Linked DNA regions of Homo sapiens: region 1 is linked to region 2. Evidence: promoter capture Hi-C in human tissues and cell types (Jung and others, 2019). All regions are on one chromosome and are shown on one strand. Each heading gives the region's core, a stretch centred on a gene start or on the middle of the fragment in contact. The rest is flanking DNA. Distances are from core to core; before and after follow the strand shown. Region 1 overlaps FBXL3 (F-box and leucine rich repeat protein 3). Region 2 holds the start of SCEL (sciellin).

Region 1 (3,652 bases), core at 956-3,455, 530 kb after region 2:
CTATCTTTTCCCACTGTTATAAAGCTATGGCTTATTGGTGGCCTCTGTCTTGTCATTTCTGAAGCAGTAGTTAAGTGCATGGACATAAGAGTCACTTAGCCTGTGTTTGTATTGCAGCTTTGCTATTTTTAGCTAGCTGTCTCCACTTCAAAGTAGAAATAATACTTTTCCAGATTTTTAAAATTATTTGTGGGATAACATCTAGTACCTGGCACATCATACTTGTAACAATAAATAGATGAAAATACGGTGTATGTTTTCTTGTTCCTATCCCTGTTTCTAAACATAAGGAAGAAATGGATTGAATGGGTAACTTACCAGGTAATATAAGGTGCCTCTTTGGGGTAGAATTCTTATAGTAGGCCGGGTGCAGTGGCTCACATCTGTAATCCCAGCACTTTGGGAGGCCAAGATGGGTGGATCACTTGAGGTCCGGAGTTCGATACTATCCTGGCCAACATGGTGAAACCCTGTCTCCAGCAAAAATACAAAAATTAGCCAGGCGTGGTGGCATACGCCTGTGGTCCCAGCTACTCAGGAGGCTGAGGCAAGAGAATTGCTTGAACCCGGGAGGCAGAGGCTGCAGTGAGCTGAGATCACACCACTGCACTCCAGCCTGGGCTACAGGGTGAGACTGACTGAAAACAAAAACAGAACTCTTACAGAGAGATCAAACATTGACCTTTGCAATGTCATCTGTTGCTAGGATGATAGTTTTGGTAAGTTATAAAGCATGGCACCCTAAGTATAGGGAATCATCTAAGGGAACTGCTTTCTAGGTATGTTAGAGCTTCGAAAGTCATAATGAATATTTCCATTAATGTGAATTGAGTAGTTATTTTTGACATACTTAGTGATATCTTGGTATTTTTTCTTATAAGTTTAATAAGCTGCTTATATGCTATTAGCAATTAGACTTGATCATTTGATAGAATCTTTAGTTTGTAAATGTTTTCTTTCATTACCTAATTCATAGTTTTATATGGTTCTATCTTACTCTGTTTTTATTAGGATTAGGTTTTGAACTTCAAAAAATGTCCTTTGGCCTCCGTCACAGTGGTCCTGTAATTACCTAACCTATAAGTTTAGTGTTAGTAATAACTTTTTAAAAATATGGCACTGTCTGTGCATTACTGGAATGCCCTAACCTTAGTGATGGTGTATTTTTTAAATGACAGAGTTAACTGAGTTTTATTTCTTTTTAATAGATGGGATTTAGAATTGGTTTCATTTTCTTGTAGACAAAATTAGTAATAGATTTTAAATGTTTGTTACTTCCCTTCTAATTCAACTATGCACATTTTAAATTATATAGTTTTGTGGTAAGGGAACTGTGACAAACTTTTGTGGGACATGTACTTGATTGAATTTTTCAACAGATAAACTTTTACAAAAACTTGCAAATAATTTTTTTTTTCTTTCAAGGTATCCTTTGTGTGGCTGATCAGTGTCACGGCTTAAGAGAACTAGCCCTGAACTACCACTTATTGAGTGATGAGTTGTTACTTGCATTGTCTTCTGAAAAACATGTTCGATTAGAACATTTGCGCATTGATGTAGTCAGTGAGAATCCTGGACAGACACACTTCCATACTATTCAGAAGAGTAGCTGGGATGCTTTCATCAGACATTCACCCAAAGTGAACTTAGTGATGTATTTTTTTTTATATGAAGAAGAATTTGACCCCTTCTTTCGCTATGAAATACCTGCCACCCATCTGTACTTTGGGAGATCAGTAAGCAAAGATGTGCTTGGCCGTGTGGGAATGACATGCCCTAGACTGGTTGAACTAGTAGTGTGTGCAAATGGATTACGGCCACTTGATGAAGAGTTAATTCGCATTGCAGAACGTTGCAAAAATTTGTCAGCTATTGGACTAGGGGAATGTGAAGTCTCATGTAGTGCCTTTGTTGAGTTTGTGAAGATGTGTGGTGGCCGCCTATCTCAATTATCCATTATGGAAGAAGTACTAATTCCTGACCAAAAGTATAGTTTGGAGCAGATTCACTGGGAAGTGTCCAAGCATCTTGGTAGGGTGTGGTTTCCCGACATGATGCCCACTTGGTAAAAACTGCATGATGAATAGCACCTTAATTTCAAGCAAATGTATTATAATTAAAGTTTTATTTGCTGTAGTTCTGATATAATTCTACTATTTTGTGGCACAGAAATTTGATATCTTCAGTCAGTATATGTAAAGATTGTTTATCGGAAGACCCATGAATGAGTTTTGGTCAGAAAATTCCACTTGTTTCCTTAGTGTAATAGCAGTCATATCTCCGAATTTTTTTTAATGTGGTTCGGATGTGAAATAACCAGTTATACGTATTAAACAGTTTACAGTCTAAAGGAAACAAAACCTATATGTTATAATATCCAAGAAGTACTAATAGGTTTTCTGAAATGTTATATTCTCTATGCATTTAAAAAAAAATGTAAACTTGACATTTTAGGGTCTTCAGTTACACATACACCTGTTATAAGGTGTTTAATATAGCTCAGGAAAGTGAGCATTTTGTGAGAAAAATGAATATATCATATCTAATGGAAAAGATTGGATGAATGTTCTCAAATGTTACAAAGCTGTTTAAAGAAAAAGGTATATATAAGTAATCAGAACACTTAGAAGACTGATAGATGTCACACAGTGGTATTATAGAAGGATAATACAGAGCCAAGATCAAATTAAAAGACAATAAATGGAACAGAAGGGAGGCAGTGTTTAGCTTTGTATAAACTTTTAGGTTTGCTCTGTAATCTGCTAAACCATATACATTCTTTTGTGATATGTTATTATGTATGTGGCACTTGAGGCACTGTATGTAAAGTAAGGAATGCTTTACTAGTTCTCCTTGGTTTTATCTTTGTTTAAACTAGCTTTAAAGTATTAAACAATAATTGAAATGAAAAGCTTACCTATTTTAAAAAGCCAAATTTAAATAAATATAGAACTTTAAAATGTTTATCAGTTGTTTCCATGAAAGAATATTAGTTTCCAGTAAATTTTAGTGATGGCTCACTCACTTTTCTATTTTGGAATTACATAGTTATGTAAGTAAAATTTTTAAAAATCATAAAGGGAGCACCATTGTACAGTCTAGCATAAACAGCAAATTTTAAAGAGGACATATTTAAGTTCATAATCATATTTTTCAGTAAATATTGCTCAGTGAACTGGAAAACTTTAATAGAAAAATGTCTGCAGTTTTGTGATTGTTAATTTGGTTAAACCGATATTTTATATTATTTAAGTTAGGTAACATTTTATATTACTTTCATATGAATAAAAGTAATCCATGCATTGTAGAGTCTATAAAATGTTGAGTTTTAAAAGATGATATAAACTTTGATGCTGGGCACTAGTGCTAGTAGATATTACTACCCTCCTGAGGGAAATCAGAAATGATTTAACCCCGGTGGAATACATTAATTCTTAAAGCGGCTCTTTTCAGTGGTGTGACTTTTAGATTGTGTCTCAGTGGTTGAGGAAGCTAACAGTCTTAGATCTACTTTTAAAACGGATGGCCTTCTTAAGAATAAAGCAAAAGGTGATTTTCTACATAATTTTTGCTTTCCAAAAGTGATGATATGCTCTCCTACAGCAACATATGAGAAGAAAAAAGGCTTATCTAGATTCGAAAATTAACAGCA
Region 2 (3,346 bases), core at 70-2,569:
TTATCTACGTTATAAACTATGGAAGTGAAAGACAGTTTTAAATGTAATCACATTTTATGAAAAATAAAATTATCCACACTTGCTACACTTTAGTTTTCTGGTTACTATAAACACTTGAAAGCCAAGTTGTAAAATTCTTCTGTAAACCTTTGGGAAATGAGCACTGGTGTGTCTAACCCCCTCTCAGACTGCAGGTGACCTTGTCAGCAATAGGAAGCCATGAGAACTCAAGTACTACAGATAGAGCCAGGTATGCTGTGGGGGCACCTCTCTGGAGGACACAGAGCTGCAATTTGCAAGCTGTGAGTGGCCCCTGCATTTGAATCCCACAGCTCTGTATCATAAATAGAAATGATGAGAAAAAACACAAGTCAGCTTAGCTATTAATTATAAAAGAAAGCTCTGTTAAAAGAACTCTTCTAGCCTTATCAAAAGTCTCCCAAAACTGGTTTTTCAGGACTAGGCTATGAATAAAGTTTGAAAATTGCCCCCATATACATTAATCACTCCTTAGGTTAGAATGCAGAATATACCATAGAGAAGTTGGCCAGATGCCCACAGATCCCTGTGAGGAACCATGTACCCTTATTCTGCTCCCACACCCTGCCTTTACTCCTTGGTACTTTCAAGTGAGAAATGGTGATTTTCTTATTTGGGGAAGATAGGGTGGAGACAAAAACCTCATAAATATAAACCTCTCTCTCTCTCATAGCTCAGCAACTTGCAATATTTTTAGCAGTAGAGAAAAAAATAAATATGACTTATTAACTATAAAGCAATATTTGAGTTCACTATTTCACTAAAAGCATCATTTATGAAAACAGAAAGATCCTTTAAAAAATGTTTGTATAGTCGCTTGAGAAAATAAACCAGCAGGTGCTGGTCCCTTCACTTAAAGAATTTATTATCCTTTGTGTGGCAGGATTCACCAGCTGACAGCTCCCACCCAGAAAATCAAATAGGTGCTCGTTTCTGTGATGCCCATAACGTGTAAAATTGCCAAGAAGTTCAATGCAATGTGACCTAAAAGTACAGCAAGGAAGAGCAGAGCTAACAGCCAGCTGGAGGCTGTCAAAATTTACAGGAAGAAAAGACAAAGATAATACAGTAAGTTCTAATTTTAATCATTTGTAAGGAACACAGAGAAAGCTGTGCACATACAGCAGATGTATTTCTGTTTGCAAGTATAATTCAACTTACCTCTATTGAGCAGAAAATCAGGACTTTTTGGCTAACCAGCCTGTAGTGATTCCCTGGGAGGATCTGGCTGAAAGAAATGGGAACCTAGAGTTTATTCAGTGGAGTCTCAACCTCTACCTGACTGTATTAGTGAACAGTTCAGAGGTTTCTTGCTCAGCGGCTGAGTCACTCAGGGAGGAGGTGTGTGGTATGCAACAGGGTGTCACCTTGTACAAATACCAGTTCAATTAAAGCATTCTCACTCATATACCTACTGTCTTTGTTTGAATTCTTTGTTTAACTTATGGCCTTATGCAAAAAAAAAAAAAACATATATATATATATGCTCCTGTGATCACCCTTTTAACTGATATCAACAGTATGCACAACCATATCACTGACAAGGTGGCATAGGACCCAACCTATTTTGTATTCTCTTTCAAAAAATAAAATTGAAAACTCAAGATAGAAGGAACCCCCATACACCCATAGTACCTGGAAGGCAGGGGCACAGACAAGCATGCAAGGAGTATATGGCTTAAAGGAATCTTCAAGACAAACAAATTCTCAGAAACCCAGGAACCCTAGGATTAGAAAACACAAAAGAAGTCTGTTCCACACATTCTACACCTAGACTATTTTGTAAAACTATCAGAGGGAAAATACACCTAGCATGTAAGAATTCTAATCTCTATCTTATTTATCCATGTATAAAAAAATGTGAAAAGGGGCCAGGCGTGGTGGCTCACATCTGTAATCCCAGGACTTTGGGCGGTGGAAGCAGGCGGATCACCTGAGGTCAGCAGTTCAAGATCAGCCTGGCCAACATGGTAAAACCTGATCTCTACTAAAAATATAAAAATTAGCTGGGCGTGATGGCACACACCTGTAACCCCAGCTATATTAAATAACTATAACACACCATGATAAAGTCATATACAGAAATTTTCAATGCCAGGCATCGCATAGTGGAGAGAAGGAAGAACCTGGAAGGTGATGTTGATGCAGAGTTTTAAAGTCTGAGTGGACAATGATTAGATGGTCAAGAAGAAGAAGAACCATTCATCCACTCTGGCAGGAGGAGGCAGGAGAATCACTTGAACCAGGGAAGTGGAGGTTACAGTGAGCCAAGATCACACCACTGCACTCTAGCCTAGGCAACAGAGTGAGACTGTCTCAGAAAAAAAAAAAAAATGTGAAAAGGATGGTTGAAACTTCTTTCAATGCTGAGGGCAGCAGTAGACCCAACATCAAAGGCTGCTTCTGGCCAGTTGCAGTGGCTTTCACTTGCACTTTGGGAGGCCAAGGTGGGAGGATCACTTGAGCCAAGAAGTTCGAGACAAACTGGGCAACACAGTAAGAGAAGATCTCATCTCTACTAAAAATAAAAAAATCAGCTGGGTGTGGTAGTGCATGTCTTTGGTCCCAGTTACTCAGGAGGCTGAGGCAAAGAGAGTCTCTTGAGCATGGGAGGACCAAGCCACAGTGAGCTGTGATCACACCACCGCATTCCAGTATGGGTGACAGAGTGAGACCCTATCTCAAAAAACAAAACAAACAGACAAAAAAAACAAAAAAAACCCAACAAAAAACAAAGGCTGCTTCCGCTGGGAGGAAGGAGTAACACTGAAGAGCCATTCTAGGCGGGGACTCCTGTTACAGGTTTTGAAACACACCTTCCCTAAGAGCCAAAGAGGCTTTAAAGAAGCTTAGCAAACATTGTTGAGAGAAGCCACGTCATCAGAACTTCCTGGGTGATCGTCATTCATATGTCACACCAGCAATGAACCAAATCCCCCCTGAACAACTGCTCCTGAAAACTACAATGCAGCTGAGTGACGCCCACTGAAATGACTGTAACAAGAAGCAGAAACCCAGACTGAAGAGCAAGGCAATTGCAGTATGTGGTCATTGTGACTGGGAGACCACTTCCTGTATGTTCCCTGATGTTCCCTTATTCTGGGCTGAGGAATTTGAAAATCTAAAATGGAAAATGTTCTTTCAAAGTAAAACATATATACGTGTCTACTCAGCTTTTTTATGGAATTTTATACATGCAAAATATTTTTAAAATATGCTTTAAGTTTCTGTGATGCCCAAAAATCTTGGTTTGAATATTAATATTACAAATGATAAAGCTGAAAAACAAAGACGTGACTTAACTCAA

What was found. Contacts are between HindIII fragments. The study calls those that stand out against the background at their distance.
Region 1: a contact is called between a fragment that was not itself captured here and the fragment with the promoter of SCEL in region 2, in 1 of the 25 tissues and cell types used here (lymphoblastoid cells).

Annotation. Positions count from the first base shown.
Region 1 is chr13:77,005,562-77,009,213 of GRCh38, reverse strand. It overlaps FBXL3 (F-box and leucine rich repeat protein 3), which reads left to right. Exons shown (of 5, transcript NM_012158.4): 5 at 1,426-3,652. The coding sequence ends at 2,069. Among named protein-coding and RNA genes, the nearest start is that of CLN5, 15 kb to the right of the region's middle. The HindIII fragment of the contact is 6,150 bases long and covers 1-3,652 here.
Region 2 is chr13:77,533,679-77,537,024 of GRCh38, reverse strand. SCEL (sciellin) reads right to left here and starts at 1,319. Exons shown (of 33, transcript NM_144777.3): 1 at 1,201-1,319. The HindIII fragment of the contact is 8,761 bases long and covers 1-3,346 here.